2 separate regions of the Homo sapiens genome follow, and region 2 is linked to region 1. The links are contacts of gene promoters, found by promoter capture Hi-C in blood cells and fetal thymus (Javierre and others, 2016). All regions are on one chromosome and are shown on one strand. The core of a region is centred on a gene start or on the middle of the fragment in contact, and the rest is flanking DNA. Distances in the headings are between cores, read along the strand shown. Region 1 holds the start of DTX3 (deltex E3 ubiquitin ligase 3). Region 2 holds the start of AGAP2-AS1 (AGAP2 antisense RNA 1).

Region 1 (4,966 bases), core at 913-3,412:
CGAAGCCGGGCCAGCCGGGCTGGGGTCTCTTTGCTCAGGAAGTCCCACACGGGCTTGGACACAGTCACTTTGTTCTTGCAGGTGCCTCCACAGGCTGCCATTCTGGACAGGACGAACGACACTGCCCCCAGGGTGAAAGGGACTCAGGGTGGGGGGTCCCCATTTGACAAGTATCAGTGCCTCCTACTTCAGGTTCCTTCCAAACCCTCTATTACCTCTGTTTTCTCAAAGCCTAATCCCCAACCCTTCACCCAAATTCATATTCTGTCTCCCCTTATCTTCCAAACCCAAAACCCACTGAAGAGCAAAAAAGTTTCCAGAGCTATATTATCATCTAAGCCAAGTATCAGTCTTGTTTCTCCTGTCATTTCTCCCAGATCATAGAAACAACTTGCCCCTCCCACCTCTTGGGGAAAAATGGGCTGTTTAAAGGGGAGGGAGACTCTTTGCCCCTCCTTTTTGCTTACTTTGATCCTGAAGAGCTTAGAATTGGCATGCAGGCTCACTCTTCTTTCCCTGCTCCCTACTTGTAGGTCGTGTGACCTGGTAGGGCGGAAAAATGGAAGGAAAGTGAGAAACCCCTTCTCCCAATTCCCATGGCCCCCAACCCAGCAGCCCATGGAACAGAGACAGAAACCTGGGTATAGGTTACTAAGAATGGCATTACTTGGAACATGGAATGAAGGAAACCAGTTTAAGGGTGAAAATTGAGGATCCCTTGCGGGGGAGATACCTGGAAAGCCCATGGAAGATGATGGCAGCAGAAATCCTTCTATTTCCACTCAGCTGACCAGGACTGGGAGTGGGGGAAGGGTAAAAAGTTATGATGGCAAATGTTACCATTCCCCTCAGCCAACCCAGAAATAAAAACTCCCCTTCCATCTCCTCTCTTCTCTGCAGAATTCCATTATCAGCTTCTCCCCAAGTTGCTCAAGAAGGAACTTCAACATGCTAACCTTCCTCCTTTCTTCCCCAGCTCTGAGGCCCCCAAGAAAGCCTAGGGCACACATAAGAGAAGTCAGGAAAGAAAACGCCCACACAGGTGGAGGTCTTCTTGCCACCTCCCTCAGATCACATGGACCGGAATATTTCCTATGCTCCCCAACTCCTCGCCTGCTCCACATTGCCAAATAATTCAGCCCCTATTGCCAGGGAGCCTTCCTTGAGAGCTAACTCAGTCCCTTCTGCTGAAGTCTGTTAAGGATGTGAACAAAGTGGCAGCAGCCCCTGCAATAACAAAGTTCTCATTGTCACCTTTTAAACCCAGCACAGGCAGTGCTGTCTGTCAGCTCCCAAGTCTGGCATTTAGGGAGGGGCGGGGCTCACACAAGGGCTCAGCTGGAGGGGCCTGATGTTTTCCCTGAGTCTGGTCGCATTGGGCTACGGGGCTGTCTCCACAACACTTCCAAATGCAGCTCAAACAGAAAGAAGGGCCATTAGTGTGACCTCCATTTATTGACTGATCCAAGAAGGAGCAGCTGTCCCTTCATGCCTCCATCATCGTCCCCCAAGGCCAGATGCACCTCGAGATTCATAAGTGAAAATGGAACCCTAGAGTCTCAGCCCATACAGTCTATCCGCGATGCAACACTTCTCTCCCCATCACGGGGGACCCAGGACCTAGGTGTCCTAGGTCCAAGTCCTGCTGGCACAGAAAAGGGAGGCGGGGCCCCAGTTTAGGGTGGGTCTGTGATTCCTCTGTGGCAACCCAGGCCGGACAAGGAACCAGTCTCTCCCTCCAGACAGAGGCCAGAGGGAGGCACAGCCCGGATGGGCAAGGGTCCCTGGGGGCATCCACTGAAGCAGCTCCCGCCCTCCCCCCACGGCCTCCTCCAAGACCCGACCCGGAACCAACTCCCCACATCCCTCAGTAGCCAAAGCCCCCGGATCCCCACCGCCGGGTGGGGGTGCATGTCGGCCCGATCGCAGCCCTCAGAACCCCCGAATGGAGGCCAAGGCTGGAGGGTGCTAGAAAGATGATCGGCCGGGCACGGAGCGGGGAGCCCGGAGCCGCGCGCGGGGAGGGGAGGTGGAGGAGGGGGCGCCGGGGGAGCGGGGGGCGCGTGAGGGGTGCGAGCGGGGCCCGGGGGGCGCGCGGTGGGTGTGGGGGGCGCCGGGCTCACCTACCTCTCGTCAGCGCCGCCATTGCCGGTCACATGACTGAGGCTGTTGCTGGGATGACGGTCCGGGCCTTAGCAACAAGGAGGGGGAGACCCCGAAAGGTGGGGGATTGCAGGGGGTGCAGGCTGAGGAAAAGGGAAGGAGGGAGGACAGCACCCCCTTTCCCCTCACAGGTGATAATCACCGTTCCTTTGACCCCCTTCTATCCGCAAGCCCCTGCCCTTCCTCCCCAAAACAAAAATGGAGGCGCTGTCCCAGTCTTTGGAGGGAGGGGGTGGCGTCATGGAACTGAGGGTAGGAGGTTAAATCCCTGGAGACGCCACCCTACTCGCTCCCCGCTCCCGGCGGAGCACTCTCCCTTTTCTTTCCCAGCCAGCTGCGTAGCAGCTCCCAGGAGCTGGTGGTGGATGGGTGGGTGAAGTGTTGGTGGGTATATGGGGATTCGGGGGGAGGGCGGCAATTTTTTGAATCCTTATGGTAGAAGGGCCTTTGAGGAACAATGTGGGATGGGAAGAGTCATAGTAAAAAGAAAAGCATTGGCTCTAAAAAATAAACAAATCCGGGTACTAAACTATTTCAATCCCCTCCCTCATCTCCTGCCTCTTTCTAGATTGTTACCTCCTATGACCCCCACAACCTGCTCTCAGATGATCATTGGTCAGTGCCTCTGATTTTTCTTTCCACAAACAGGGATATGGAGGCTGGTGCAGAATGGGAAGCGAATACATTTTTTAAAAAGTGGCTCGAGGTGGTGGTGGTGTCAAGTGTATGGTTCAAATAGAGTTAAAAACTCTCAAAGAAGAAAAAAAAAAAGCTCTGCTCTGCTTCCCACATCAAGCAGTCTCCGCCCAATCCAACTCACTTCCCTGGGGCCACATCAAGCCAGGTTTTTCCACCAGCCAAAAGACTTCCTCAGCCAAGACAGGCAGGAATCTCCCAAACTGGCAACAACCTCTATTCATCCACCCCTTTTTCACTCCCCCCTCTAGACTGGAGGGCTAGTCACTTTCTTCACTTTCCCAGGACCCTGCTGTACTCTTCCTTCCCTCCAGGAAGAGGACAGCTTTCCCAGGAAGCCTGGGGGAATACTAGATTCCTTTTCTTTTAGCTGGTGGGCTGAGAGGCCTACTCACCTTTACAAAGATGGAGTGTTAGCAAGCCCAGAACTCTGGGAAGAGGAAGGGTCCCATCACCCTACTCTTCCCTGGCCCTCACTACCGCTGACCTCCCACAAGGTTAAAGACTAAGTTTTCCATTCCCGTGCACACCCTTCACAGCCTTTTTAAAAAAGTTCACAGCCATCTGTCTAGAAACCCACATCCTTAGTTAGGGGCCCAACACCTTGAACACCAGAATTCTTCAGCTGGTCTCTGCACCCTTAAACACAGGCTCCCTGAGAGAAGTGAAATTTAAAAAAAAAAAAAAAAAGGCATTTCTGTACAGAAATTTGGATTGAATAATTTATTCCCTGTATTATTATAGTAACAGGAGCAAATACATAAATTTTTATTAATAAAACAAAAAAGATGAAAAACAGAAGCAACAAATGAAGACATCCATACTGCCCATAACACATCAGCCATATGATCAGAAAACCCATTTCTAAAGAGCAATGGTTGCTGGTGTCACAGAGTTTTATTGCATTCATCGGGGGAAAGGGAGATGGTTGGAATGAAAAAGATCCATCAGTCTTCTGACAGGAAGATGTTATATGGGGGCTCCAACCCCTAACTGGGTACTCCTCTTGCTACCACCTTTGGAGCAGAAGATGAAGGGGAGAGGGAGCTTCTCCCTATGGCCTCATGGCTTCTTGTGAGACAGATCAGTCCAGCCAGATACAGAGCAAAGCAGCTTTGCATCACCACAGGCCAGTTGCTGATGCCCAGCTTTATGTCTAAAAAAAAAAAAAGTGGAAGCCTCAAGGGGGATGGAGGATAGCAAGAAGAATGGGTGCCTTGGCCCCAGAGGCATTGTAGGGAGAGGAAGACAATGTATCTCATCAGGGTTCTCAACATTATGAGATTATCACACATCAACTATCTTTGGAGGGGCTGAGTGATTGAGTTATGGCTCTGACTCCTCTCTGGGGGTGGAGAGTGAAGATGACAAAGAAGGCCATCTGTCCCCTAGGAGACACAGTTGCAGTATAAGACAGGACAGAAGAGAACAGAAAAACAAATCCAACTGGAAAAAGGGGTGGGAGAAGGAAGTGTGCTAGGTACACACATCCAGGGAGTAGGGGAAGTTCCCACACTTGAGGCCTCCATCCTCTTGAAATGACCAGAATTGATCCAAGTAGAGATATTCCTTTCTTCTGGAAATAAACCTTGGGGATGGCTAGGCAGGATGAAAGGAAACTTTACATGGAGAATGAATCCTACACCCTGGCCCATCATTCCAGCCTCCAAAACTGGCCACACACCCACTGAAGGGTTCCAGTCCCAGGAGAGGTGTGAGGTTCTGGTGAAGAGCAGCAATAGTCAAACATCTTCCCCCAGGCTTGAATGCTTTTGGCCATCTCTGGGTTGCTGTGCCCAGATGTAGAGATGGGTGGAGATGGAATTGAGGTAAGGGAAGAGATTACTCAATCTATGACAGAGACCCAATCCAATTCTCTGCATAATCATGAGTCCTCTTAGGTCCCACCTCTGTGAGGTGCCAGGCTGCTGACCCACTCTCTACCCCACCTGTGTAGGAATGGCCATATTCCATCGTGTGTGTGCATGCCTGCACCCACATCTGTAGTATCTTGAGTGTCATCCATCCTAGGGCCCACCAGGAGGGAAGCATGCCATAGTGAGTTTTATAAAGTTATCAGCAAAATTCAGACACTTTTAGTTCATCC
Region 2 (4,291 bases), core at 1,747-4,246, 120 kb before region 1:
GCCCCTTCTCCCAATAACTTTCTTTCTTTTTTTTTTCTTTTCTTTTTTTTTTTTTTTTTTGAGATGGAGTCTCACTCTGTCACCCAGGCTGGAGTACAGTGGTGCGATCTCGGCTCACTGCAAGCTCTGCCTCCCGGGTTCACACCATTCTCCTGCCTCAGCCTTCCAAGTAGCTGGGACTACAGGCACTTGCCACCATGCCCGGCTAATTTTTTGTATTTTTTAGTAGAGACTGGGTTTCACTGTGTTAGCCAGGATGGTCTTGATCTCCTGACCTCGTGATCTGCCCGCCTCGGCCTCCCAAAGTGCTGGGATTACAGGCGGTGGGGATTACAGGCATGAGTCACCGTGCCCGGCCTTCTCCCGATAACTTTCTATTGCCAAGTGCTCCCCAACAGCCCTTGACCATAGTGATCCCCATTCTTGTCCCTCAGTGATTCCCCGCACCCCCACCGCCACCAGCCCCAGGGCCCTCTCATCTCAGCCCTGCGCCCCAGCTTCTGTCCCCTTCCCCCGTGTTCACTCAGATCCTGACCCTCCCTTCTTCTCCCAGAGGTCCAGCTCCTCGCTGGTCTTGATAACCCATCCCTGCTGCCCCTGCTCTCTGCCGGGTGCTCAGACCCAGGTTCCAGATCTGCCTACTCTCATGGCTCTTGGCTTCTGTTCCACTCTGCTCCGGGGCCACTGACTTTAGTTCTGCTTTCTCTCCCCATCTGTCTGTCCTGCTTTGTCTCTGGCACTCTGTCACTATCTCTCTCCATCTCTCCATCTACCTGTCTTTTTCTCCTTCTTTCTTGGTCTCTCTTTCTCTGTTCTGCTCTCCATTCTATCTCTATCTCCTTCGCTTCGGGAAACCAGCCAAGCGCAAAATGTGGAAACTAAAATCCTTTGGTAGTTTAAGAAATATTTATAAAGCAGGTAACAAGTGGGGAGCCGGGAGGGGCGCTCAGCTGGGGTGCAGAAGGGTGGGGGTGCCCCCGCCTTCCCCTGCATGTGCTCGGGCTTCCTGCTGCCCCCCACCCTCTGCTTTCCCTACCCCCACTGCCCCACTCCCAGGGGCTCGGGATGGACATCAGGGAGGACGGTCTTGGGAAAGGCAGCCCCTGCTTGAACTCTGTCCCTTAATGACCCCATCCCATCCCCCACTCAGAGGAAAACTTTGAGTTCCTGATCGTGTCCAGCACGGGTCAGACGTGGCACTTTGAGGCAGCCAGTTTTGAGGAGCGGGATGCCTGGGTCCAGGCCATCGAGAGTCAGATCCTAGCCAGTCTGCAATGCTGTGAGAGCAGCAAGGTCAAGGTAAGAGTTTGAGGTGGAGTGGAGGACTGGCCGCAGGAACTGACCCTGGTGCTGACGGCCATTGGCAACGACACGGCCGAAGTCGTGTGAGAGGAGAGCAGAGGTGTCTGAGAAGGAGGTGGGGCTTGGAGGCAGAGTCAGTGCCAACCCAAACCCTCTCTGCAGCTGCGCACAGACAGCCAAAGCGAGGCCGTGGCCATCCAGGCGATCCGGAACGCCAAGGGGAATTCAATCTGCGTGGACTGCGGGGCCCCCAGTGAGTGCCAGGAGGCAGCGGAGGGGCTAGGGAGTGTAGTGAATGCCGGGGTGCCTGTGCTGCCCGGCTGGGAGCCGACCTCTACGCTCCTTCCGCAGACCCCACGTGGGCCAGCTTGAACCTGGGCGCCCTCATCTGCATCGAGTGTTCTGGCATCCACCGCAACCTGGGCACACACCTGTCCCGCGTTCGCTCGCTGGACTTGGACGACTGGCCACGGGAGCTGACCCTGGTGCTGACGGCTATTGGCAACGACACGGCCAACCGCGTGTGGGAAAGCGACACGCGAGGCCGTGCCAAGCCCTCGCGGGACTCTTCGCGGTAAGCGTGAGGGAACAGAGCGGGGGGAGGGTTGCTGAGGGTGTGCGAACCTGAGACGGTCCCGTGGGTAGGGGCAGAAGTCCTGGCTGGGGGTCCCTAGAGCCTTTTCCGTTGATCCCTGGTCTTGCAGGGAGGAGCGCGAGTCGTGGATTCGCGCCAAGTACGAGCAGCTACTGTTCCTGGCGCCGCTGAGCACCTCGGAGGAGCCGCTGGGCCGCCAGCTGTGGGCCGCCGTGCAGGCCCAGGACGTGGCTACCGTTCTCCTGCTTTTGGCCCATGCGCGACACGGGCCGCTCGACACCAGCGTAGAGGACCCACAGCTGCGCTCCCCACTCCACCTGGCGGCCGAGCTCGCCCACGTCGTCATCACGCAACTGCTGCTGTGGGTACGTGAGCTGGGGGGAGGAAAGGGGGTCTTTGAGGCTTCATCTCGGAAAACGCCTGGCGCGGGAAAGCCCGAAATTCCCAGAGGGACCCCGGAAGTAGGCTTGGCCATGTGGGGGAGGCGGCGCCGGGTGTGGGCGCCCTGGGGACGCGCGGTCACGCGGCCGTTTCCGCCCTCTAGTACGGCGCGGACGTGGCGGCCCGTGACGCCCAGGGCCGCACGGCGCTGTTCTACGCCCGCCAGGCTGGAAGCCAGCTGTGCGCCGACATCCTTCTCCAGCACGGCTGCCCGGGTGAGGGCGGCAGCGCGGCCACCACGCCCAGCGCGGCCACCACGCCCAGCATCACCGCCACGCCCAGCCCCCGCCGCCGGAGCAGCGCCGCTAGCGTGGGCCGCGCCGACGCCCCGGTTGCGCTGGTATAGTTGCCCAGCGGGAGAGACACCCCCATCCCCACGCGGGCCGGGCACGACCACACCGGGCGGACCGCTGGACAGACGCACCCACTCACCTCTCCGATCCGCACCCCGCCCCACGGGAGCACTTCCTACCCCCACGAGGGCACAGCCCCCACGCCTTCCAGAAGACACAAACTCACCTCCCTCTCCCCAACGAGGCATGGAGACCCCAGCTCAACACGCCCCCTCTCCATTGTTTCCACACTCGGATTGCTCTGGGTCTACCCGCTCGGGGTTCGCGGAAGGGGAGGTCCCCAGCGGTACGGGCTCCTAGGCGCTTGGACATGCCCGCTTGTGCCCCCTAGGGGCGGAAAGAAGACCCGGTCCTGCCCGAGCTCAACAATCCCAGGGCGGGAGCCCATACCCAGGCTGGCTCCTGGGGCGACGCCACGCCAGAGGGAGGGTTTAGTACATGGGAGGGCTAGCCCCGGGACTTGGGGCCAATACGGAAACCCTACCCCTTCCATGCTCATCTCACTGCCCAGTGAAGGGGGCAAGGGCAGCGAGGGGCAGGACCCCTGCTGCTCATGGGGGTGGGGGTTCCCAACCCTTTCCGTGAAAGGGACCGTGAGTAGTGGAAACCAGGACGTCCCCTACACCTACCCATGGGTGGAAGCTAAAGAGTCCGGGGGGAACCAAGAGCCTGGGTCCCTCCCACTACTATCTTGGGAGGGAGAAGGGATGGAGCAGGAGCGGGCTAAGAGGGCTGCGGGGGCCTTGTAATTTATTGCTTTGTTCCCCAACATGGGGATGGGGGCGGGCAGGGGCGTGGGGAGGGCGTTTTGGGGTAGGGGAAGCCCAGGGTGGGCAGGGGGTGGGTTGGGGTGGGGGTGCTCTCGGGTTGTGTCTGTGACCGTGACTGCGTACCTGTGACTGTGCAGCGCCCGTGGTGATCTGGGGTAGGGGGCACCCCTACAGTGGGACCCCTCCCCCATTATTCTTTCTGTCCAGCCCCTCCCTCCCACTGGAGCAGCTCCAGAGCCATTCCTCACCCCCGTGACCTCTCCCAGCCAGGGCTGAGAGGATTCGAGGTGGCTGGGAGGGTTTCCAGGCCCCCTGCCCCTTCCCCACAAACTGGGTGATAGGGCGGACTTACCTGGCCCAGCCCTGCCTCCCTCAGCCAACCCAGCCCTTGGGCTGTCTGTGTCAGTGGTTTCCGGTCTTTTTTTTTTTTTTTTTTTCTGGCTAAAATAGTTTGCAAAGGACCAGGTAATTGGGGAGGGGAGAGAGGTGGGGGCAAGGGGGAAATGCCCCCCCATCTCCTTGGAGGCAGTGGTGTGAATCTTCTTCAACAGCAATTAAAGAGGAAGTGATTTTGTCTAGGGGGTGAGCTGCTGGTCTGTTCTTGGAGGCAGGTCAGGGCATGGCCTTGGTCAAGATGGGGTACTGGGGTTGGACAGGGACAGGCAGAGGTGCCTCCCACTGGGGCTGGTGGCAGGACAGTACCCATGGGCATGGAGGTGGTTCCATCATGTACAACAGTTCTGGGTTCATGTAGTGGAGGACGTGGGCAGGTTGGAGTCAGTGGGGACCCTGGGAACAGAGAAGGCACTGACTCTTAAGATGATGCCAGT

Evidence for each region. Contacts are between HindIII fragments. The CHiCAGO score rates a contact against its expected background, and 5 or more counts as called.
Region 2: the fragment with the promoter of AGAP2-AS1 here is called in contact with the fragment with the promoter of DTX3 in region 1 in 1 of 17 cell types (M1 macrophages); the score reaches 6.0 in M1 macrophages.

Annotation. Positions count from the first base shown.
Region 1 is chr12:57,602,020-57,606,985 of GRCh38, reverse strand. DTX3 (deltex E3 ubiquitin ligase 3) reads right to left here and starts at 2,162. Exons shown (of 7, transcript NM_178502.4): 1 at 2,128-2,162; 2 at 1,255-1,415; 3 at 734-796; 4 at 468-543; 5 at 1-121. The coding sequence starts at 468. It overlaps PIP4K2C (phosphatidylinositol-5-phosphate 4-kinase type 2 gamma), which reads right to left. Exons shown (of 10, transcript NM_024779.5): 10 at 3,568-4,966. RefSeq lists enhancers at 1,768-2,280, 2,281-2,792. The HindIII fragment of the contact is 28,357 bases long and covers 1-4,966 here.
Region 2 is chr12:57,724,945-57,729,235 of GRCh38, reverse strand. It overlaps AGAP2-AS1 (AGAP2 antisense RNA 1), which reads right to left and starts at 2,996. Exons shown (of 2, transcript NR_027032.1): 1 at 2,858-2,996; 2 at 880-2,271. It overlaps AGAP2 (ArfGAP with GTPase domain, ankyrin repeat and PH domain 2), which reads left to right. Exons shown (of 19, transcript NM_001122772.3): 14 at 859-918; 15 at 1,151-1,299; 16 at 1,465-1,555; 17 at 1,654-1,876; 18 at 2,007-2,262; 19 at 2,442-4,039. The coding sequence ends at 2,684. RefSeq lists enhancers at 1,145-1,778, 1,779-2,414. The HindIII fragment of the contact is 18,142 bases long and covers 1-4,291 here.